Linked DNA regions of Homo sapiens: region 1 is linked to region 2. Evidence: promoter capture Hi-C in human tissues and cell types (Jung and others, 2019). All regions are on one chromosome and are shown on one strand. Each heading gives the region's core, a stretch centred on a gene start or on the middle of the fragment in contact. The rest is flanking DNA. Distances are from core to core; before and after follow the strand shown. Region 1 has its middle 75 kb from the start of CLDN10-AS1. Region 2 holds the start of ABCC4 (ATP binding cassette subfamily C member 4 (PEL blood group)).

What was found. Contacts are between HindIII fragments. The study calls those that stand out against the background at their distance.
Region 1: a fragment that was not itself captured here is called in contact with the fragment with the promoter of ABCC4 in region 2 in 1 of the 25 tissues and cell types used here (H1 embryonic stem cells).

What each region holds. Positions count from the first base shown.
Region 1 is chr13:95,456,518-95,461,946 of GRCh38, reverse strand. It overlaps a transcript of CLDN10 not described here. Among named protein-coding and RNA genes, the nearest start is that of CLDN10-AS1, 75 kb to the left of the region's middle. RefSeq lists an enhancer at 4,257-4,316. The HindIII fragment of the contact is 9,460 bases long and covers 1-5,429 here.
Region 2 is chr13:95,299,196-95,304,268 of GRCh38, reverse strand. It overlaps ABCC4 (ATP binding cassette subfamily C member 4 (PEL blood group)), which reads left to right and starts at 2,818. Exons shown (of 31, transcript NM_005845.5): 1 at 2,818-3,028. The coding sequence starts at 2,955. LOC102724149 (a long non-coding RNA gene) reads right to left here and starts at 3,318. Exons shown (of 3, transcript XR_429273.4): 1 at 3,006-3,318; 2 at 1,943-2,323. RefSeq lists silencers at 2,313-2,372, 2,553-2,612, 2,643-3,282 and enhancers at 2,099-2,873, 4,476-4,535. The HindIII fragment of the contact is 21,021 bases long and covers 1-5,073 here.

The sequences.
Region 1 (5,429 bases), core at 2,051-4,550, 160 kb before region 2:
TTTTTTTTTTTACTTTTTGTAGACATGGGGTCTTGCTATGTTGCCCAGGTTGGTCTTGAACTCCTAGCCTCAAGTGATCTTCCTGCATTGGCCTCCCAAAGTATTAGGATTACAGGCATGAGCCACTGTGCATGATCAAGTGTTTCATTAAGAACAAGTTCTGCTGTTCTGTGTCTCACAGAAGTGCACAGGTAAAGCATTTGCACTTGTGGGATCAAGTGGTAGCTTTGATTTATAAAGCAGAACTGTCATCAGGAATTTGGTTGAGGAAGCTGAAGTTGTTTTATCTCAAAGTTGTTTTCCTGGAATAATTCAGTTCTCCAAGGGAACTCTGGGATTCACAAATCATGACGAGGTCAGGAAAACAGTCATGCTAATGAAAATGGGGTCTGGTATAGGACAGGGGAAAGACCAATAACTTCTTTCTCTAAAGTAGGATGCTGGAGACACCACCATAGAACAAAAAAAGTCAAATAACTTGAGGACAGGAGTGAACAGGAATCAAAGGCAAAGGAAAAAGGTAAAGTGACTTTTAGCATAAATAAAGGCCTCAAGAAGTATCTGTTCTTTCCTCTCCTGAATGACTCCATTATGAGGGATAGAAATCAAAGAGCAATAGAATGGGGTGGAGTAGAAGTACTAGAGTGTTCTAGCTGAGCTCCACTCAAGGTCACACTATTATTTAAGAACACAGAATGCAAGGCTGGGCATGGTGGCTCACATCTGTAATCCCAGCACTTTAGGAGGCTGAGGTGGGAGGATTGCTTTGGAGTTTGAGACCGGCCTGGGCAACATAGGGAGACTGTGTCTCTAAAAAATAATTTTTTCTTCTTTTGAGACAGAGTCTCGCTGTGTCACCCAGGCTGGAGTGCAGTGAGCTGATCTCGGCTCACTGCAACCTCCACCTCCCTGATTCAAGCAATTCCCCTGCCTCAGCCTCTGGAGTAGCTGGGATTACAGGTGTGCACCACCCACATCCAGCTAACTTTTTTGTATTTTTAGTAGAGATGGGGTTTCACCATGTTGGCCAGACTGGTTTTGAACCCCTGACCTCAGGCAATCCGCCGGCCTCAGCCTCCCAAAATGCTGAGATTACAGGTGTGAGCCACCGCACCCAGCTAAAAATTAAAATTTTAGCTGAGTGCGGTGGTATGTGCCTGTAATCACAGCTACTCCAGAGGAGAGAGGCTCAGGTGGGAGGATTGCTTGAACCCAGGAGGTTGAGGCTGCAGTGAGCCATTGATATGGTTTGGCTGTGTCCTCACCCAATATCTCATCTTGAATTGTAATCCCCATAATCCTCGTAAAATCTTCACATGTCACGGCAAAGATCAGGTAGAGATAATTGAATCATGGGGGTGGTTTTCCCCACGCTGTTCTTGTGGCATTGAGTGAGTTTTCATGAGATCTAATGGTTTTATAAGGGGCTCTTTCCTTTTTGCCATGTGAAGAAGGTGGCTTTTTCGCCTTCTACCATGATTGTAAGTTTGCTGAGGCCTTCCCAGCCACAGGAACCATGAGTCAATTAAACATCTTCCCTTTATAAATTACCCAGTCTCAGGTATTTCCTTATAGCAATGTGAGAATGGACTAATACAGTCAATTGGTACCACAGAGAGTATGTTGCTGCTATAAAGATACCTGTAAATGTGGAAGCAACTTTGGAACTGGGTAACAGGCAGAGGTTGGAAGAGTTTGGAAGGTTCAAAAGAAGACAGGAAGATGTGGAAAAGTTTGAAAGTTTCTAGAGACTTGTTGAATGACTTTGACCAAAATACTGATAGTGATATTGACAATGAAGTCCAGGCTGAGGTGGTCTCAGATGGAGATGAGGATCTTTTTGGGAACTGGAATAAAGGTGACTCTTGCTGTGCTTTAGCAAAGAGACTGGAAGCACTTTGCCCCTGCCCTAGAGATCTGTGGAAATTTGAACTTGAGAGAGATGATTTAGGGTATCTGGCAGAAGAAATTTCTAAGAAGCAAAGTGTTCAAGAGGTAACTTGGGTGCTCTTGAAAGCATTCAGTTGTATGCATTCACAAAGAGATGATTTGGAATTGTAACTTATATTTAAATGGGAAGCAGAGCATAAAGTTTAGAAAATTTGCAGCCTGACAATGCAATATAAAAGAAAACCCCATTTTCTGGGGAGAAATTCAAGCAGGCTGGAAAAATTTGCATAAGTAATGAGGAACCAAATGTTAGTCACCAAGACAATGGAGAAGATGTCTCCAGGGCATGTCAGAGGTCTTCATGGCTGCCCCTTCCATCACAGGCCTGGAGGCCTAGGAGGAAAAACTGGTTTCATGGGCCAGATCCAGGGTCTTGCTACTTTGTCCAGTCTCAGGACTTGGTGCCCTGCATCCTAGCCATGGCTAAAATGGGCCAATGTACAGCGCAGACCATTGTTTCAGAGGGTGCAAGTCCCAAGCCTTGGCAGTTTACACATTGTGTTGGGCCTTCAGGTGCACAGAAGTTAATAATTGAGGTTTGAGAACCTCTGCCTAGATTTCAGAGGATGTATGGAAATGCCCAGATGTCCAGGAAGAAGTTTGTGGCAGGGGTGGAGCCCTCATGGAGAACCTCTGGTAGGGTAGTGTGGAAGGGAAAGGTGGGGTCAGAGCCCCCACACAGAGTCCCTACTAGGGCATAGCCTAGTGGAGCTGTGAGAAGAGGGCCACTGTCCTCCAGACCCCATAATGGTAGATCTACTGACGGCTTACACCATGCACCTGGAAAAGTTGCAGACACTCAACGCCAGCCTGTGAAAGCAGCCAGGAGTGGGGTTGTACCCTGCAATGCCACAGGAACAGAGCTGTCCAAGGCCATGGGAGACCACCTCTTGCATCAGTGTGACCTGGATGTAGGACATGGCGTCAAAGGAGATATTTTGGAGCTCTAAGATTTAATGACTGCCCCACTGAATTTGGACTTGCATGGGGTCTGTAGCCCCTTTGTTTTGGCCAATTTCTCCCATTTGTAACAGGTGTATTTACCCAGTGCTGTACTCCCATTGCATCTCAGAAGTAACTAACTTGCTTTTGATTTTACAGGCTCATAGGTGGAAGGTACTTGACTTGTTTCAGATGAGACTTTGGATTTGGACTTTTGGGTTAATACTGGAATGAGTTAAGAATTTGGGGGACAATTGGAAAGGCATGATTATGTTTTGAAATGTGAGGACATGAGATTTGGGAGGGGCTGGGGCAGAATGATGTGGTTTGGCTGTGTCCCCACCCAAAATCTCATCTTGAATTGTGATCCCCATAATCCCCATAATCCCTGTGTGTCAAGGGAGAGACCAGGTGGAGGTAATTGAATCATGGGAGCAGTTTCCCCCATGCTCTTCTGGTAATAGTGAGTTTTCACAAGATCTGATAGTTTTATAAGAGGTTCTTCCCCCTTCACTCATCACTTCTCCTTCCTGCTGCCTGTGAAGAAGGTGGCTTGCTTCCCCTTCACCTTCCACCATGACTGTAAGTTTCCTGAGGCCTTTCCAGCCATGCAGAAGCATGAGTTGATTAAACCTCTTTCCTTTATAAATTACCCAGTCTCAAGTATTTCCTTATAGCAATGTGAAAATGAACTAATACAGCCATGATCACCACTGCACTCCAGCCTGGGTCACAGAGCAACACTTTGTCTCAAAAAACAAAACAACAAGAACAACAAAAACACGGAGGCTATTTCTCTACCTCTTGACTCTGTGTTTGGCCATATGACTTGCTTTGACCAATGGGATGTCATAGACATGATACAATCAGAGGTCTACACAACCACTCATGTAATTGAGCTTGTTTTGCTGTGTTTTTGCCATGAAAAGTATATGCTCAGGCAAGCCTACTGTTCTAGGAGGTAGACAGGTAGAGCAGAACCAAGTCACCCCAGCCAACCTCATCTAAGGTCAGCCAACCCCCATTAGACCCCAGGTGCATAAGTTGAGTCCAGTTGAGATCAGCAAAGTCCAGCCTAGATTAGCTGAACTTCACAGGTACAAGAAATGAATGTTCATTATTGTTGTTGACCATGAGGATCTGTGGTTGTTGGTTACATAGCAATTTTCTGACAATAGCTAACTCACAGGTTGACTTATTTTCAACATACCCTAATGAGATGACAGAGATTGCTGCAGATATGCCCAGTGCAGTTTTGGCTTCCTAGAGGGTCTTCAAGAGAGTACACCCTAGAAAAAGGGCAGAAACCATCACTATATACCCAGGCTGCCTCTTCTGTTTGGAAGAGATTCTTATTTGAAAACCATTCATATGCCAGGCTAGTGGCATCCCCAGCGAAACTGAGGGTCAGAAAATAATATCTGATAACTGGGAAGAACTAAGGTCATTTCTAGTTGCAGAGTATCTGAAACTCGAGTAGGAAACTAGAGAATGGAACAAATAGTGGTAGCAACAGGGAATCCCCCTACATCAGTATGTGATTCACCAAGTACAAGGTCAAACAGATAACCACAACTGCTCTGTCAGTTCCCAAGACTGCACAGAACACAGAGCCCCAGCACCTTGCTTTGGTCCTCCCTGAGTTTCTACACACCTGGCTTCTCAACGAAAGAGGATCCATTTGCATACGAAACAAACTCTGCAATGTAGAAGATGGCTGTTTGATCTGAAGCAGATTTTGTAAGCTTGTGCAATGGTAAGAACATAATTTAACTCAACAATTTTTTTTTAGTAACTTATTAATGCTGAAAACTGGAATAATCTCCAGAGATGTGGATGGACTAGGAATTGGATCTGCCTCCATATGCCAGGGTTAAGACATAGTCCTGCTAAAGAAACAAGCAAATGCATACACAACAACAGAGGTGACCAGAAGATGGGTGCAATAAAATGCTTCTGGATCACAGGAACACTTGCGGGACCGAGACGCAACAGGAAGGCTGTGGGAGGAAGTGCTTTTGCAGAGGAACATGATGAGTTTGGTTTAGGACCTATGCTATTTACAGCCTGGCAGAGACTCCATCTGTCTTACATATTTGTACATATCAGCTCCATCTTTTTCCTATTTCTCATTCTGCTTCAATCCTGCCTGCAAATTTAAATCTCCCTTGGAGAATAGACAAAATAACTTGCTTTTTTGTGATCTGTCTTTACAAACAAAGCAAAATGCCTTATGCATAGGAGATGCCTAATGAATGTTTTCATTTTGTTTTTGTTTCATTTTGTTTTGTTTCGTTTTGTGCAGGGTCTCCCTCTGTAGCACAAGCTGGAGTGTAGTGGCATGATGACAGTTCACTGCAGCCTTGAATTCCTAGGCTCAAGCAATCCTCCCATCTCAACCTCTTAAGTAACTGAGACTAAGCTGTGCTCCATCATGACCAGCTAATTTTTTTTTTAATTTTTTGTGGAGACAGGCGTCTTATTATGTTGCCCAAGCTGGTCTTGAACTCCTGGCCTTAAGCAATCCTCCTGCCTCA
Region 2 (5,073 bases), core at 1,569-4,068:
GAGCCCATCTCCAAAAAGAAAACCATTCTCAAACATGCATGAAATGTAAGAAAATAAACCCCTATGACACATCATTTGGCTTCAAAAATTATCAATATTTTGCCATTCTTATGTGCTTGACTTTTTTTTTTTTTGAGACAGAGTCTCACTCTTTAGCCCAGGCTGGAGGGCAGTGGTGTGATCATAGCCTACTGTAGCCTCCAACTCCTGGGCTTAAGCAATCCTCCCACCTGAACCTCCAGCTGGGACTACAGACTCACGCCACCACACCCATCATATTTTTACATTTTTAGTAGAGATGAGGTCTCCCTTTGTTGCCCAGGCTGGTCTAGAACTCCTGGGCTCAAGCAATCCTCCCACCTGAGCCTCCAGGTTACATGGGACTACAGACTTACTCCACCATGCCCATCTAATTTTCACATTTTTAGTGGAGATGAGGTCTCCCTATGTTGCCCAGGCTGGTCTAGAACTCCCGGGCTAAAGCAATCCTCCTGTCTCCACCTCTCAAAGTGCTGGGATTATGGGCTTGTACAGCCTGGAGTGCAGTGGCACCTTCTTTTTTTTTTTGAGACGGAGTTTCACTCTTGTTGCCAAGCTGGAGTGCAGTGGGATGATCTCGGCTCACTGCAACCTCCGCCTCCTGGGTTCAAGTGATTCTTCTGCCTGAGGTTCCTGAGTAGCTGGGATTACAGGCATCCACCACCACACCCAGATAATTTTTTGTATTTTTAGTAGAGATGGGGTTTCACCATGTTGGCCAGGCTGGTCTCGAACTCCTGACGTCAGGTGATTCACCTGCCTCAGCCTCCCAGAGTGCTAGGATTATAGGCGTGAGCCATTGTGCCCAGCCCAGTGGGCACCTTCTTAACTCCTTGTAGCCTGGAACTCCTGGGCTAAAGCCATCCTCCTGTCTCAGCCTCTCGAGTAGCTGGGACTACAAGGGTACGCCACCACACCTGGGCTAATTTTTAAAACTTTTGGTAGAGACAGAGCCTCACTATGCTGGCTAGCCTGTGCTTGACTTTTAAATATGTGTTTGTGTAAGGCTTTCTTTAAAAGCTATTAACTATACTATTTTAGCAAATATACATGGGAAATTATCAAGGAACAATAAAATGATCTTGTTCCAAGCACCATGAACTTGGAGCCTTTCATTTTTTTTCATTCAGGGTGGATATGAAGAGCAGCTGCTGACCTTGTTAAGGTAGCCACAGAAATGACTGAAGACTTAGAGGTGGGAGTACACAAGCTTGGAACAAGATTTTGTTCATTCATTCCTACAGCCATTCAACCAGCATATTCTGGGCACTTCTCATGCACACTGGCCATCCACCAGGGAGACAGGCCATGCTTAGACATAGGCTTATTGCAAATCATGTTTTATCCTTTCTTGGCTCTAAGACTGGACAAGTTCTGCCTTTCAGCTTCACCTTCCTCATCTATAAAGTAAGGATAACCTTGAATGGGGCACTGATAGAATTAAAAGTGAGATAATTGGTCGGGCGTGGTGGTACATGCCTGTAATCCTAGCACTTTGGGAGGCCACGGTGGGAGGATCACTTGAGCCTAGGAGTTTGAGACCAGCCTGGGCAACAAAGTGAGAAATTATCAAGGAACAATAAAATGATCTTATTACAAAGAAAACCAAATTCTCAAACATGCATGAAATATGAAGAAAATAAACCTCCATGACAATCATTTGGCTTCAAAAATTATCAGTATTTGAACTTGGAGCCTTTGATTTTGATTTTTGCATCTCTACAAAAATTACAAAATATGAGCCGGGTGTGGTGGCGGGTGCCTGTAGTCCTAGCTACTTAAACTGAGTTGGGAGGATTGCTTGAGCCCTGGGAGGTCGAGGGTGCAATGAGCCATAATCGTGACACTGTGTGTGAGACTGCCACACACACACACACACACACACACTAGTGAGGCTACGCACTCAGAAATGCACATGAACATCACTGGTATTCTGGAACCCACGTGTCGTTTGCCACTGTTATCTGTTAGGCTTTAGGGCTTGACGACAGAAATCATCAGGCAGTCTCTCTTTCCTCTTATATTCCTTTCCCAATCTAAGGGGGCAGCAAAAAGCTCAGAGGTCCACCGTAGCATGCAACATGTGAGATGCCTAAAGCCCGCCCCCATCGACGACAGCATTCATCCATCTCCCGAATTCATCTGGGTCATACTCTCGAGTTACCCGGCTTTCTTGAGGTCTTGCAGCTCTACAAGGATAATCTGTGGCTAAACTTTGCTGTCGTCCAAGGTCAAATGTTTGGCTCACAGGTTGAAGAGCCTCCCATGGCACCGTCGTTTGGTCCTGAGAAGGGAAAGGCGCCCAGGGGGCGGGCTGCTAGAGCACGAGGCAGCTGTCTCCCAGTCTTCCCAAACCCGTAGCCGAGGGGGCGTTTCTGCGGCGCAGGGGCGGGCACAGCCGACGCCTCCCTGCTCCACCTTCTGTGTCGGCGCCTAGACTCGGATAGTGAATTTCGGAAAGTTTCACTCGGGTTCGTGCACGTGGGCACCTCCGGACCCGGCCTCCTTGCCGCGCGCTCTGCTACCCTCTCCATCCAGCGGCGCAGGCGGCCCTCGCCTCACCCCTGGGCGTAGCTCTGGGCTCCCTTTGGCGTCGCCAGCTTCGCCTCCTCCCGCCGCGTCTCCTCCCGCCGCGTCACCCGTCGGTCCCGGCCGCGCTCGCACGCGGTGCGCAGCTCCCGGGCTCCAGGCGGCGGCGCGTAGCGGGCGCCCCCGAGGCGGCGGGCCTGAGAGGCGGGGACGGGGCGTGCCGCCGGCGCCCGGCTCCCGGAAGCGGCTGCTTCACAGGCTCCAGCCGAGCGGACAGGCGTGGCGGCCGGAGCCCCAGCATCCCTGCTTGAGGTCCAGGAGCGGAGCCCGCGGCCACCGCCGCCTGATCAGCGCGACCCCGGCCCGCGCCCGCCCCGCCCGGCAAGATGCTGCCCGTGTACCAGGAGGTGAAGCCCAACCCGCTGCAGGACGCGAACCTCTGCTCACGCGTGTTCTTCTGGTGAGTGTCCCCGCCCGAAACAGGTCACCCTGCAGCCGCTGGCGCCGCGGACGCACTCTCCCGGGGCCGCGCCCGATGCTGCCCAAGCCCTCTGCGGCTGGGGGCGAGGGGAGCGCTTTCCTACGCCACGCGGTCCACGCCGGGGCTTTCTGCTGCGGGTGGCGCCGCCCCCACGCCGGCCGCGTGGTCCCTGCCTGCGCCCCGGGGCGCGGCGCAGGGGGACGCGGGGACGCGGGGCCAGTGGCTTTGCTACTGGAGGCCCTGCGGGCCCTTAGGGCTCGGGGGAGGAGGAGCAGGAGGTGGGGAGGCGGGGAACCCAGGCTGCCGAAAGGGGGAGTCTCTTGCCCAGCGGGAGAAGCGACTGCACCCCTTACACGCCCACCCTTCGCTGGCTCCCGCCTCCTGCTCTGGGACTCGCAGTCTCCTGAACTCAAACGCACCTTTTCCTTTCTTTTTAAGTAAGCAGCTTACGAACAGTTTCCTTTATCTGATCTCAGCCAAAGCCTAATTAGTGTCCTGGACCTATGCCATCTCCCAGTAGTGTCCCCACCCCTTCCGATATTCCTTACGAGACAGCTCGATCCAACTCCACGTCCCGTTGTACCTCTCTGTGTCCCGGTGTCTCTGTATCTTTTGTCTCAGTGACCAGGGCTCTCCTTTTGCCTCTTTGTGGGAATCTCACTGTGTGTCCATGTGGGTCGTGGTACCTAGTTATGGCAAGTTTCATGTGGGTAAAATAACACTATTATTATTTTTCATTTATGAATGGGGACCCTGTTCTTGAACAAGATTTTCCAGGATTTGCTTTTAACTGGGACATGCACCGCCACGACTGGAGTCTGTCTTTGACCAGCTTCTTTCCCCTGTTTCCAATACTTTCACTTCCACGTAGGAGGACAGCTCGGAGGTGGGGTCCCTGGAATCGCTAACCTTCAGAGAGGTGATCCATGGTCTTGATGCAGGTGGTTCCTACCAGGAGTTCTACCTTCTTAAAACCACCCCAGGGCTCCTGAGCTGGGAGGGCCCACAGCCCTACCCATTTTGTGCAAGGAAACAAACGGAGAAAGACTCGGGTGACAGTAGTAACTAAAATTTCCATCTTGGCCTGGCGCGGTGGCTCACGCCTGTATCCCTGCACTTTGGGAGGCAGAGGTGGGTGGATCACGAGGTCAGGAGTTCGAGACCAGCCTGGCTGACATGGTGAAACCCCGTCTCTACTAAAAATACAAAAATTAGCCGGGTGTGGTGGAGCACGCCTGTAATCCCAGCTACTCAGGAGGCTGAGGCAGGGGAATTGCTTGAACCCAGTAGGCGGAGGTTGCAGTGAGCTGAGATCGCCCCACTGTACTCCAGCCTGGGTGACAGAGTGAGACTCCGTCTTGGGGGAGTGGCGGGTGTGTGTGGGGGAATTCCGTCTGCTAACTACATAAGCCTGAACCTTTGAAGGGCTTCAATCTCACTTGGATGATTATTAGATCTTCTGTTTCTTGACCTCTGCCGCCTCATCTTTCCCACATGTTGATATTGCCTTTTATTATGGGACAACCTAGGGTGGGGGTCTCCAATTTTTTGGGTTCCCTGGGCCACACTGGAAGAATTGTCTTGGGCCATACATAAAATACACTAACACTAATCATACACTAACACTAATGATAGCTGATGAGCTAAAAAAAAATCGCAAAAAAAAATCTGATGTTTTAAGAAAGCTTACGAATTTGGCAGCCCATGGGCCTCAGGTTGGACAAGCTTGACCTAGGGGATTCCAAGAGGATGAGTCGCTTACTCTTGTTTCGATTGTGGTACACTCAGTGGGTGTAGGAACTTCTCTTGGTTGTTTGGCGGCCTTTCTCTTAAGGAGAGGGGCACGTGGAGGAGGAAGGAATATGGGTGTGGTTTCTGCAAATAATAACTTGAGGTAGACAAATGGTCTCCTCAACTTCAGGCAGGGCAAGGAACTTTTTTTTTTTTTTTTTGAGACAGGATCTTGCTTTGTGCAAGCTGTGACCCAGGCTGGAGGGCAGTGACACATTCATAGCTTGCTGCAG